2 separate regions of the Homo sapiens genome follow, and region 2 is linked to region 1. The links are contacts of gene promoters, found by promoter capture Hi-C in human tissues and cell types (Jung and others, 2019). All regions are on one chromosome and are shown on one strand. The core of a region is centred on a gene start or on the middle of the fragment in contact, and the rest is flanking DNA. Distances in the headings are between cores, read along the strand shown.

Evidence for each region. Contacts are between HindIII fragments. The study calls those that stand out against the background at their distance.
Region 2: a fragment that was not itself captured here is called in contact with the fragment with the promoter of HPN in region 1 in 1 of the 25 tissues and cell types used here (lymphoblastoid cells).

Annotation. Positions count from the first base shown.
Region 1 is chr19:35,040,471-35,047,280 of GRCh38, reverse strand. It overlaps HPN (hepsin), which reads right to left and starts at 5,560. Exons shown (of 13, transcript NM_001384133.1): 1 at 5,409-5,560; 2 at 4,759-4,828. The coding sequence starts at 4,774. RefSeq lists an enhancer at 6,089-6,810. The HindIII fragment of the contact is 10,578 bases long and covers 1-6,810 here.
Region 2 is chr19:34,887,315-34,894,124 of GRCh38, reverse strand. LINC00904 (long intergenic non-protein coding RNA 904) reads left to right here. Exons shown (of 6, transcript NR_187844.1): 5 at 669-781; 6 at 1,829-2,293. Among named protein-coding and RNA genes, the nearest start is that of LINC00904, 14 kb to the left of the region's middle. The HindIII fragment of the contact is 4,130 bases long and covers 639-4,768 here.

The DNA.
Region 1 (6,810 bases), core at 4,311-6,810:
GAGGCTGGAGAGGCCATCGAGATGGCCAGATGGCCAGAGCTTGGGGAAGGTAGTGGGAACCAAGGCTGGGGCCAGCTGGGGAGGCCTGGTGGCACAGGAAAAGGGATTTTATTCCCAGGGCAAAGAGGTCCTGGAGATTAAAAGCCAACTCCTAGCCGGGCTCGGTGGCTCACGCCTGTAATCCCAGCACTTTGGGAGGCCGAGGTGGGCAGATCACGAGGTCAGGAGATCGAGACCATCCTGGCTAACACGGTGAAACCCCGTCTCTACTAAGAATACAAAAAATTAGCCGGGCGCAGTGGCAGGCACCTGTAATCCCAGCTACTCGGGAGGCTGAGGCAGGAGAATGGCTTGAACCCGGGAGGCAGAGCTTGCAGTGAGCCGAGATCGCGCCACTGCACTTCAGCTTGGGCGACAGAGCGAGACTCTGTCTCAAAAAATAAATAAATAAATAAATACATAAATAAATAAAAGCCAACCCCTTCACTAGGGATTATAAGAAGGCCAAAGAGTAAAGGCTGCTGAAAGCCTTCAGCTGGGCCTGGCTTGGGTTCAACTGCCCTTGGCAGCCGCAAAGCACCCCAAGGTGGCAGGAGCTCCCAGCTCGCCCATCTGCACCCATGGTGATGTGGCTGGTGAACCCGGCACCAGGCCAGCACCTGGAACAGAGCAGGGAGTGGTCTAGGACCTTCCTGGTGTGGCCATTATCTGGGTGTCTTAAGAATTTGAGAGCTCAGGCTGGGCATGGTGGCTCATGCCTGTAATCCCGGTCCTTTGGGAGGCTGAGGCAGGTGGATCACTTGAGGTCAGGAGCTCAAGACCAGCCTGGCCAACATGGTGAAACCCCGCCTCTACTAAAAATACAAAAATTAGCTGGGTGTGGTGGCGGGCGCCTATAGTCCCAGCTACTCGGGAAGCTGAGGCAGGAGAATCGCTTGAACCCGGGAGGTGGAGGTTGCAGTGAATCAAGATTGCGCCACTGTACTCTAGCCTGGGCAACAGAGCGAGACTCTGTATTAAAAAAAAAAAAAAATTGAAAGCTCAGTGGCTCCCATCAAGGCATGAGGAAACACTCTCTTCCCCAAAAGAGGCCCCAGTGGGCCAGACCAGCCCAACTACTGCCGGCTGACCCCTGCCTGTCCTGCGAGGGGTTCTCAGGCCTGCCCCCCAACTCTGCCCAGGACCACTCTCCAGGTTCCAGCAGGAGGTCTTGGCTCCCGACAGCCACTGGGCTGGTCTTGCTTGCTTTGTTTTCAGCTGTGCCTGCCAGGGCTCTAGGCCATGCAGAATGCAGCCTAGAGGCCTTGGCACATCTGGTGGGACAGGAAGCAATGCCACTATGTATGTGTCTCCTAGGGTGAGAGGAAGAACCTCCTTCCATGCTGTGTGGTTCAGAGGACTTCAGCGCCTCCAGTGGGACAGGAAGCATCTGCATCCTGGGGTTCCCCCAGTATGAGAGGCATCCTCCCTGCATGTCTCTACTGGGACAGGCAGCATCCTCATCTGGCCCACGGTGTGGGACGCATCCTCATCCTCCCTGCGTGTCTCTACTGGGACAGGCAGCATCCTCATCTGGCCCAGGGTGTGGGACGCATCCTCATCCTCCCTGCGTGTCTCTACTGGGACAGGCGGCACGTCAACATCAATTCTTTGATCCCAGCAGCAGGGCTATTTCCCTTGGTAAGCCAGACCTCCCCCACCCCTACATCTCCCTGAGACTCTCTGCCCCTGCTTCTCCAGGCCCCTCTGGATGCCTTGGGTCTTCTCATAGGTCAGTTCTTCCGCCTCCACCATTTGGCTGCAAAGACCCCCACGCGTAACACCTTTGGCTCTCTGGCTCTGAAAATCCACTCAACTGGTGGCTCCGTGTCTCGGGCCTCATCTTACATGACTGCAGCTTCCTGTATAAATGCTCTCCTCTTTGGACTTCTGGGACACCAGGCGCACCTGATTTTCCTTCCCGCCTCTGAGGCTGCTGTCTTCACCCACCCTCTACCTACTCCGTAAAATCCAGAGTTTGTAGGGCTGGCCGCAGCCTCCCCCTGCTCCTCCTTGCCCCTAAGTCTGTCTCACCCACCTCTGTGGACTCAGTTTCCCCTCTGTCCCCAGCCCTAGACCCTCTTCCAGGTCCCAGGTCAGGGCTCCTGCAGTCCTTTAAATACCTTTTAAATACCTTTCCCTGGGACCTCCTAGTCCCTTTGCCCCTACCAGGTCCCAGAATGTCTCCCCAATGTCTCCCCAAGTATATTCTTCCTCCCGGTCCTGTCTCAGAGGCCCTCACTCCTAGGACCATCCCCATCTGCATAACATTCCCCTCCCCCGACAGCCTGCCAATCCTCCTGAGTGACTCTCCTTCCCCCGTTTCCTTCTTTCTCTCCATCTGCACCTTGCTCCGGCCCCATCCAACCGCTGGGCTCAGTCTCCCTTCTAGCGCACCCTCCACACGGAGGCTTGGGGAACCTACTGAGACACCAAATCCAACCTGTCCCCTCTTTACCTATAGAACCCTCTGTGACTCCCTAGTACCCCCCAGACAGCTTAAGTCCCTCAGCCTGGCATTTCCAGCCCCACTAGGGTATAAGCATGGCTTTCAGAGATTTGGGAGTATGTTTCCCCCAATTCTCAGACAACCATGTGGGTCACTATCAGGTACCAGAGAGAGCTTCCAAAAAGCAACCCAAACAGTAGAACTTGTAAAATACAAGTTAGACAAGAGAAGCAGGGACTAACCACTGGCGCCACCTTGTGGAGAGACCTGGTACTGCAAGGAATTGGCCAGCTCTTCCCCAAAACAGTCCCACCCCTGCCTGGTCCAGCTTGCACACCTCTTCTCCCACCCAGCTCAACTTCCAGCTTCACCTCCAGAAATACCACAATTGGCTACGTGCACACCAGTGCTGTGTCACCTCCCAGCTTCCCAGAGAAGAGCAAGAGCCTTGCTCTTCCCTCTGCCTGGCATCCTTGGAATTGCAACTCCAGTATCACCTCCTCCAATTCCAAGTTTCCAGGCAGCACCAAGAAGCCAGCAGCAATAACAGTGACACCAACAACAGCAGCCGCTGCAGCCACAACGGCTCTCTGAATCACACACGGACGCACCGCCCTACCCTAACCCCGTCCAGTCCTGCACAGCATCCTTACTTAAATCCTTGCAGCTGTTCACGAGGAAGGCGCCATTGCCATCACCCCCAGTTTACAGATGAGAAAAGGAGGCCCAAAGTCCGGCAGCCACCAAACCCGGGTCACCCGGCAAGTAAGTGCAGAATCGGAACCCTTCAGCATCTGTGTCCAGGTTCGACCTCCACACCCCTAGCCCTGACAGCAGGACTCCCCTCCAAGACCAGCCCGGAGCTGCCAGGGAGGCACCAGAGCCCACTTTGTGTCTGTTTCTCTTTGTACCCAGGCCATCTCTGTCCATTCGGGCATTTTCTGCTTTTCTTCCCTGGCTCATTCACCCATGGGCCCAAGCCCTGGGGCTGTCCTTCCGGCAGCTCCAGGAAAGAGATTGTCCCCAAGGAGCTGGATTCTGTCATCCACCTGCTCGGCTAGGGTGCAATGCCTTCTCCTGAGTAACTGGGAGCCTGGGTTCCCTCTGGACTGCAGCTGATTGGTTTGGGGTCTGAATTGCCAGCTGTGCCGAGACCCGAGGAGGCCAGAGATCTGAACTAATCATTTCAGCCAACACGCTCAGTGCTTCCTGCCCATCCTGGCATTTCAGGCCTCGCCCCACGCTGTTGGACATGCACTGTCACCCTCTCCATTTCACAGATGAGAGAATGGAGGCCCAGGGAGAACACGCCGTCTGCCCAGGGCCACACAGCTAGAAAGTGCTACTGCCCAGGACTGAGCCCGGCTATCCTGGTTGCGGAAGAAGAGAGGGAGTCAGCCCCAGCTAGGGGAAGGCAGAAAGAACAGGACGCCCCTCCATGCGCCCCTCCAGCTGGGTCCCATGTGTGAGAGGTAGAAAGGAAGCCAGGCTAGCTGGGGGCTGCCCAGAGACTCCCAAGGGCCAGCAACTCCATGACGCAGTCTCTCTCTCTCATCCTTATGGTGGTTTCTCTGCCGTCTCTCCCCTCTCCATCCATCCAGGCCCAGTCCAAAGTCCTCCCTCTGCTCTTTTGCCCACAGAGCCAGGAGGTGGAGGAATGTCTGGGATCGGTGGGGGTCCTGGGTCTCTGGGACTCCGAGTTTGCCAACCTCTGTCATGACAGCTCTGCTTGATGGCATGCGTCTTATATGCAGAGCCCCAGACCAGTGCCTGGTGTGTGTCATGCACTCAGCAACCTCACAGAGGGAGGACTGGTATCCATGCTTGACCCAGAGGGAGACCAAAGCCCTAAGAATAATGTCACTTGCACCAGATCACACAGCAAAAAAGATGGCAAGAGCAAATTCAAATGCAAGCCTGTGTGTTTCACTCCAAATCTGTGTCCTTAACCATGACAGCTACAGCTTCCCCGCCTCAGCCCCAGCAGAGGACAAGTCCAGAGTTAGCTGAGAAATCACTGGGGGATGAGGGGAAACTGAGGCAGCACGCCAGGAAGGTCACATAGGGTAGAAGGGAGGCTGGTGGTGGCACAGCTGCACAGAAAATGTGGTTAATAGTTAATCAGGTGGAGGAGGACTAACAGGGGTGGGGATGCATCTGGGAGGGGTGCCCAGAGAGAGGGGGCTCCGAAGAGTAGAGGGTAGAGAAAAGAGCACAGAGGGCGGGGCGCCAGGCAGAGCCAAAGCTGGGGCTCAGGGAAGGGGACTCACCCTCCTTCTGCGCCATGTCACTGCCTCTTGTTAATGATTCCCTGGCTGACCTCCTGGGCCAGGGTGGGACCTGTGAGGAGATGGACGGGGAGGCAGGGCCTGGGGGAGCCCAGCCCAGCCCAGTCCTGGCGCCCCCAGTCCCAGGCGTCCATCCAGGCAGGCTGTAGGGACTGGGCCTTGGCCAGAGCACGCCGTGATCACGGACGCAGATTGGGCTGGGTTCAAGGATGGGGTCAGTGTCTGACCAGCAGCGGGGGGACGCCTGGATTTGCAGGGATGGGGACCCCCATGCCTGAGCCTGGTGGAGCAGGGGACTGAGGATCCCGGTTTGAGGGAGGAGACAGCTGAGGACCTGAAATCATAAGTCTTGGGAAAGGAGGAATTTGGGGGCCAGGACTCCCTAGTATGAGGGAGGAGGGGCCTGAGGGCTGGAACTCCTGGGTCTGGGGAGGAAAGGACTGGGGTCCAACGGCTGAGTCTGAAGGAAGAGCAGGACAGAACACCTAGGTGCTTGGGGGGACGTCATAGTGCCCCCTCTTCAGGTCCCCAGGAACCCCTCTATTAGGAGGTGGGCATTAGGCTGGGTGGGGGGATGAGGGAACCCCTGTCCTCAGGGCTGGAACTGTGAGTCTGGGGGCCCTTGTCCTTACCCTGGGGTCCAGCAGGTGGGGGCGGAGCCTCGAGGTAGTGCCGGGGTCGGGTCAGTCTCCAGGCCTGGGCAGGAGCATGGTGGCCCCGCAGCAGCGGGCGGCCTGGAGGCAGAGGCGGTGGCGTGGGGCCTGCTAGGCCAGGCTGCCTCACCTGAGGAGGAGGGGGCTGGGCGAGGGGCGGGTGAAGGGGCGGGGAGGGGCCGGACCATTCGATTGGCAGCACTGGAGGCCACCTGGCTGATGGGGCCGGGCTTGTGGGGGCTGGACCAGGCGGGCCCAGCTACGGGGCTTGCCTTGGACCTCCAGGGGGACCCAGGTGTGCCTGTCTGCGGGGATGTGGGAACAGGGACAGGCCTGGCCGGAGGCTGGGGGTTTAGGGAGAAAGTGCAGGCTGAAGGGTGGGGGTCTGACCAGAAGAGATCAGATGGAGGGCCCCAGCTGCCCTAAGCCCACTCCACCCTCACCCAGCGAACCCTTCCCCCCGCCCTTTCTGCGTCCTCCAGCCCCAGGTCCTGGCTGTGCCCGCCACTTGCTGCACCTCTGCCTAATTCCCTGCCCAATTCCTGGGCCCCAACCCCAGCCCCAGCCTCTCCCGCCTGCCCTGCTCATCCTGCCCCGGCCCCTCCCCCGCTGGCTTCCTACAAGTCACGGGGCTGGTTTGCTTTGGCAGCCTCCGCCCGGCCGCGGTGACCTCTGGAGCCAGAAAGTCCTAGCACTAGATAGGGGGGATGGGGGGCTTGGCCGGGAAAACACAGCGCTAAGGGCAGAGGCCCAGGCCAAGTGGCCGGAAGCGTCCGCAGGCAGATAACACACTGTCCCGCCAGCAGCCAGGCGCGGCCCACGTCAGACCCAGGGCCAGGTAAACACCAGACGTGCAGGGTCACCGCCAGACACCTGCCCGTGCTCAACCACACGCCGGACACAGTCGGCCTCGGCTGCTTGCCCCAGATAGGCCACCCGCACAACCGGCCCCACCCGCTTACCCACACGTGCCCGCTGTGCCCAGCCAAACCCACCTCCACCGCACCCATTTCCTCCACTCAGCCCAGGGCCCCTCATTGGGACACGCTGGTTTAGCCTGGCTTCCTCTGCCTTTCCATCCATACCCGTCTCTCCTTCCCTCTCCTTCTCCCCAGCGCCCACCTCTCCAGAGACTCACACTGCTGGGCACACCACACACCCCATGCCACCCCTGCACCCCAGCATCAGCCTCGATTCTCTTCCCTCCACGGCACCCCCTCCCTTCCTGGCTCCGTTCCACTCTCCCTCACCCCTGAGCCCATGGCTCCCCCAACCCCGACACAGATCAGGCACTAAGTGGCTTCACCTGTGGGCCCTCAGGTAGGGTCCCTGGAAAGCGGGCTCGAAGATTCGGGGACGGGAATGGGGGGAAGGTGACGGG
Region 2 (6,810 bases), core at 1,454-3,953, 150 kb after region 1:
TGCTTTATATATTTAGGTGTTCTTATGTTTGGTTCATATATATTTATAATTGTTATATTTTCCTGATGAATTAACCCATGTATCATTATATAATGTCCTTTGCTGTCTCTTACGGTAGTTTTTGACTTAAAGTCTATTTTGTCTAATATAAGTGTAGCCACCTGACTCACTTCTGGTTACTATTTGCATGGAATATCTTTTTCCATTCATTCACTTTCAAACAATGTATGTCCTTAAATCTAAAGTGAGTTTCCTGTAAACAGAATATAGTTGGGTAATTCTTTTTATCCATCCAGCTACTCTGTGTCTTTTGATTGAGAAATTTAATCTATTTATATTTAAAGTAATTATCGATAGGGAAGGATTTACAATTTTTTTTTGTTCATTGCTGTTAGTCTAGTTCTGTTAGTTTCTGAAGAAATGATATTCTTAGTTTTGTGTTCCTACTGCTCCCATATCCCTACTAGTAACCCCTCCGATTTTACTTTTGATATATTCACCCATCACTCCTACTATATTGTAAATTCCTTTGAGGCAATAGATGCCTTTCAGCTATATGTCACTAGGCTCAAGCACAATGTCTAGTGTAGAATCAACTCTGAATAAGTATTTAGTAAAATAATATGTCTAAGCTAAGGGAAATGCTTACATTTTTCTTTTTCCCCCAGCTTCAGCTGGTTCTCCTGAACCTTGAATTATCTTAGGAAAGATTGTATTTTCAGGAATTAAGTCTATTGGAGACACAGCAGGACTCCACAGCCAGCTAGATTTGGATAAAATGGTAAGGACTGTAATTTGCTATTTTAGGGTTTTATACTAGAGCCAGACCAATTACTTTTCCAAATAGACCTTATCTAGGTATTTTCTTGAAAAAATGATCTTTTCTGAATTTTCATGGAGCATGAAAACACTTCTATATAATATGTGACATCCTAGTCTTAAAATTTCCAATAATCACAAAGGAGCCATGAGCTTTTTCTTCCTTTTTTTCTTCTAGACATAAGGGCCTCTATACCATACCCATCCTCTTTGGTCGAGGTGTGAATATGTGGGGATGATTTTCTTAAGTCTAAATGAAAGAGAAAGACACAAATGAGACATTTAATTATTTTCAACCAAATTTGTTAATTTTGTTTCCCTAACACACATCGGGGGTGGTCTGGCGTACGACCAAATCAGAGTGATGGAAGAGGAGCACAGAGGGAAAAGGCAAGGGAGGGTCACCCATCCCTTCCTCCTTTGAGCTTCCCTTCCTCATGGCTGCTATCCTTTACATCAAAACACAGAGATGTCAGATGTCAGCCTGTGCAGTTGTAAAGTGTGGCTATGCCACCTCCTATTTGCTGAGCCATAGAACTTTGAAAAGTTACATCTGCCTCAACACAGCACCACTTATAGAAAGAAGTCAATTCTTCTTCCACCGTTGACTAAAATAGAAAAGACATGTAAGCAGAGAGGATCAATGAACAAAAGGAAGGCATTCTCTCTCTCTCTCTCTATATATATATATATACACACACGTGATGTATATATGTATATATATACACATACATATACATTATATGTGTGTGTATATATATATACACATATAACATATATGTGTGTGTATATATATATGTGTGTGTGTGTTTATCAGTCTAGGAAAGAAAGAAAAGGGCCCACTGAGGCAAATGGGCTGGACCAAAGGAGGCAGCTACAGGCAGCAAGGGGTCCTGCCAGCGTAAGATGGCAGGAAAACTGGCCCATAGCTTGGTTCTACCAGACTGAGAAGTTGAAACTGGGTATGGTGTGGTGGATATACTTACTGATCTTTTTCTTCTTTCCACAGTAGACTGCCTCAAGGCCAGTGTGTTGACTTCTGACCAGTCTCATCTGAACCCACACCCTTTAACATATATACAAAACACCTGAAGGGTTGGGCTGCCAGCTTTCTTTAGGATGATAGAGGGCAGGTTAAGTTTGTTTGACATAACTAGAAGAGGTGGAGCCTCTTCCTAATGGAGCAAGGTCCATTTATGGCAAACTGTGGTCCCCCACCACTATCAGCTACTTCTGGATAGCTTTTGCTTAAAGTTGATGAGATATTGTTTCTTTCACTAGAAGAAAATGAATGAGTTGGTGATCCCAAACTTTGGCCTCCAAAGGAAGCCTGGGCAGGTGACAAATGTGTCCTAAGCGAGACTGCTGCTTCCATGCTCATGCTGGAGGTACATTTGCCCTGAAAGATGGAGCAAAAGTGCTGAAGCTTAGCACAGAGGATTAATGAATAAGAACAAGGCTATGTTATATCATATTTGTATAGCAATCTGGAAAAGAAAGAACGGGGCTTGTTAAGGCAAATGGGCAAGACAAAACGGGATATCTATAGGCAGCAAGGGGTCCTGCCAGTCTAAGACTAATGGAAAACTGGCCCATAGCCAGGTATTTTCTCAATGGTGTTCACTACACCAAGTCAGAGGGCTACTTTGTCTAGATAGAGCCCAGGTATTGTGAGTGAGTGCAGGAATAGAAGTGTCTTCCTAAAGGTGTATGTATGGTGTTCTCCTGGGAGACTGTAACAGATGTGCCCTGGGCAAGACCACGCCAGCAGCTGTCAATGATGCTGAGCATACAAATACCCTGGAGCCCAGGAATGGGGCTGCCTCCGCCCAGTGTATCACCTGTGCTCCAGACTGTGTACCCCAGGTCCTCTGCCAGTAGCATCTCCAATCACAGGTGAAATGCCAGCCCTTCAAACAGCACAGGTGGGCCCTAGGTGTCTGATGGAAGGAATGAACAGATATATCACGTGGCATGCATTTCTTCTCAGTGGTGCAGGTATCTCCAGCAGGTTTGCTCTGGCCAGGTGGGCCCCAGTACTTAGACCATATGCAGGAAGAGAAGACTCTCTAAAAATAGGTATGATGTTGGCCCCTTCCATTGCAACACACGTGCCCTGGACAGGTGGGATTCAGGTGTTCTGGCTATAGGTAGGAACATAAAGGCATCCGAGCATAGATGCAGTGCTGGTCCCTTAGACTGCAACAGGTGTACTTTAGTTAGGTGTGCCCCAGGTGGCTTGACTGGGGCAGGAAGAGAAGGATCTCAGCACAGGTATGGTGCTGGTCCCTTCCACTGGAACACAAGTGCTCTGGCCAAACAGGTCCCAGGTGATCTGAACAAAAGGGGGAACAGCCATGTCTTCTGAAACACTCCTTCTCAGTGATCACAAATCTTCCAGTAGTAGTAGGCGTGTTTTGGCTGGGCTGGCACCAGGTGCTCTAACTACAGGTGGGAAGGAAAGTGTTTCCCAGGGCAGATTTGATTTGCTCTCAGCAGTGCCGGCTTCTCCAATTGCAGCAGGAGTGCATCAGGGCTGACAGGACCCTGGCGCTCAGGTCTAAGCCTCCCCCATCATGAGCTGTGGTACTGGCTGTCCCCCAGCCATTTTGCTCCAAAGCTAAGCGATCTAGATGTGGTGGTAGACTCTGCGTGGTAGACCCAATGACCCCAAAGCTTTTGCTATCCATAAGGGCTTCAGATCCCACAAATACAAATTGGCTTGGATTGGCATCAGCAAGAAATGAGCAACAGTCCTCAGTGTTGTGCTTTCTGGTAGCATTTCATGGCAAGAGTAAGAGTGTCCACACCAATGGGTAAAACACCCGAGGCACCACCATGGGCTGCCTGAATGCTGACATTGATGCCAAAGTGGACACGGGAGTGTTTAGTTCCCAAAAGCCAACTGAGTTGTGCTGCCATTGGGTTCTAGGGCTGCAGTAGAGGTTAAGTGTGAAGGGTTTTCAGGGGCTGGCAGGTTTCTCAAAGGGAAACAGCTGTTAACATTGCAGGGAGAGACAGGATGATAACAGATGGGGACATGGGCATGGTACCCATGTTGATTTCCTTAGAGGCAAAGTCAGGCGGAGACACCAAGTCTGAAGACGGGTTGTATACTGGAGTGGAGGTGACTGCAGAATCAGTGGTAGGTGGGCCAGAAAAGACAGGGCACTGGGGGGAGTGGTTCTCTGGCAAGGCCCTGAATCAGGACCCCCAGATTTCAGCTGGTAAGTGTTTCCTGAATCAAAAGCAAGCTTAGAAGTTCAAGTAGGGCTGCTGACCATAAAAGCAGGTGGGCTGGTGGGGATGATGGCCTTTGCAGGGGATATCCGCTCCACACTGGGATGGGCCTGGTCCAATGGGAGGAAGCTCACCCCGGATCTTGAGGGAGACCTGAAGAAGAAAGCTTGGAAGGAAGAGTACTATCCACATCAATTATAACACAGTCCAGGCAGGCTGGGAAGTCCAGTCTGCAGACAGGCTGCCTGGCATGCTAGAAGTGACTGCAGAAGCAGTGATGGGTTGGCTGGTAAAGACAGGGGTACTGGTGCAAGCAACTTGAGGAGGGGTCTGTAAGAAAAGGGGAGGAGAATCCACCTGCACAGGTGTATATGACTCCATTCTGCAGAAGGTAAGCTTTAAGGAGAGGGAGAAAGTTCTAGGACGTGTGGGTTAGGCAGAAGTAGAGGATCCCGCAAGTATGACCGAGGGACTGGAATGCAGAGGGCCCCTGTTCTCATTATTAAGTGGAATAGCAAATATAGGTTGGAATCCAAAGTGAGAAATAGCAGGAAGAGCAAAAGGAGAGTCAGGAACTGTGCATCTCATTTCATGATCAGTATCTGATGTGTGTGTAGGTACAGGGTCAGAGAGTATGAGTGGCCTAACAGGCCAGCCAAGTCAGTGACTGCTAATTTGGTAGTTTCTGGAATCTGCAAGGAAAAGGTGACCAATGGCAAAGGATCTGTGGCCTCCACAGCAGGTAGGGAGAACAGGAAGGCTGAGCTGCTACGCTGTCTGAAGGGACCTGAGAATTATTCTCCCACCCTGAGGTTCCCTTCGTGTTCAGGGTTCTCCAAGCTAAGGTCTTCTGCAGTAACTATGCAGGGAAGGTAGGAGATGGGGGCAGCTCTCCTCACTCTCACAACAGTGGCAATGGGGGCAGCAATGGCAGCAGCAGGGGCACTGACAATTTCTGTTTACAGAGACTACAACTGGCAGATGTGAGTGGAGAATTTCTCATTGACAGAGTATCTGAAAGCTTTCCTCTGTGAGTTGCTGTCTTTGACTTCAATGTGGCTGGAGAGCTGAGTTGATAATGGCCTTCATCAAGCTCTTCCTTTCTCTGGCAGCAGGAAGGAGAATGTGGCTGGCCATACAGCGCTGCTGCACCTCCTTCACTGCCATGAAGAGGCAGGAAGCCTCTAGCAGGCAGGACTATCTGGGCTGGTGATGGCATGATCTTTTGTGAACGAACTCATAGAAGACATCTGTAAAATCTAACCTCAGCTGTCTTCTGAGTGATTGGAATAGAGGCTTATCTTCAGGGGTTCAGGACTGCTCCCAAATATGTGATGCTACTGCTGGTTGCTAGGGACCTAGATGCTGATGGTACTCTCCCACTGCTATAGGGGCCCCTTTTCTCTAACTGCGTCTTCTCCCACACTGAGGATCTTCCTCCTTCAGTATCCATTTCCTTCATGCCCCTGGTATCTTCTTCTTGGTCTCCTTTAAGCAAGGATCTGGGGGGAGGTGTGAGTGGCTGTCCCAGGTCTTAGAGGTGACGAGGGAGGAGAGTCCATTTGTGCCTTGGAGGAGGGATCTTTGTCATTCTGGAGTGGCCACTTTGTGGTACAAGCAGACAGCAATGTCATTTTCAGAGAGTCCCCTTAGGATCGCCAGAGAGGAACACTGAGGTTTCCTGATGGGATACTGTCCTTTAGGGGTATATGACACCAGGATCCTGGTAGAACTACCAGGGAAAAAGCCAAAGTGGAGTGATCCCAGCCAGAAGGGGGAGCACGCTGGGTCAGGTTGAACGAGTGCATGATAGCATGGCCAGGCATGCGAGCAGGATGGGGGCAAACCTTGCTAAGCAAGTTGCCTATGAAGGGCAGTTTGTGCGCTGCCGGGTCCTTGGAGGATATGACATTTGGAGAGGTCTCCTCACTACCTGCTACCTCCATGGCAAACCAGGTACTGTTCAGCTTGATGCATGTGACACACGGGACATGCGACAGAGAAAAAGTGCCCCAGCTAAGGGCATATTGCCAGCAAAATGCATGAGGAAAAACATCGAAGGGCAAGAGGTCCAGAGGCTGAACCCCAGCAGGACTCTCTAGTACTTCTTGGCATTCCTATCATGGGTTGCAGGTGTTTGGCACCAGACAGTCTCGGTGGCAAGGTGGGACTCTCCAAGACTGAACTCCAGGAGCCTACATAACTGTCACTTCCATGTCTGCAGGCACCTCAGTGCCACAGGGCAAATTTACCTCAGCCTGTTCCTTTCAGACAACTGCTGCAGATGACACCAGTTCACCCTCACCACCTTTCCCCACTCCTCCAGGCTCGTAGGTCAAGGCTCCAACACCAGCTCCTCCAGGGGCTTCCCTAGCTCTTCTTCAGTTCCAGGAGCTGGGTGCACCTTTTCTGTGGCCACCCGGGACAGGCGACTATCCCAAGCATCTCCAGGGGGCTGCTAGGCTTTCTGAGGTGGCAACAAGGATACCACAACACATTCTTTCCTGGCAGGCAGTTTATCTTCACTTATTTTTACAAATTTAGTAAGACAGCATTTAAGCCATAAAACCTTCCTTGTGTCACATGTGTACTAGTGGCCCACATTCCACACTGGGTGGAATTTGAACCCTGATTGTCTGATTCCAGAGCTCATACATTTAACCACCAGACTATGGTGGCTTCCCATCATGTAGACATCACATATTACCAGTTTTGACAGTCTGTAGGGTACTTAGTACAATTACACCTCCA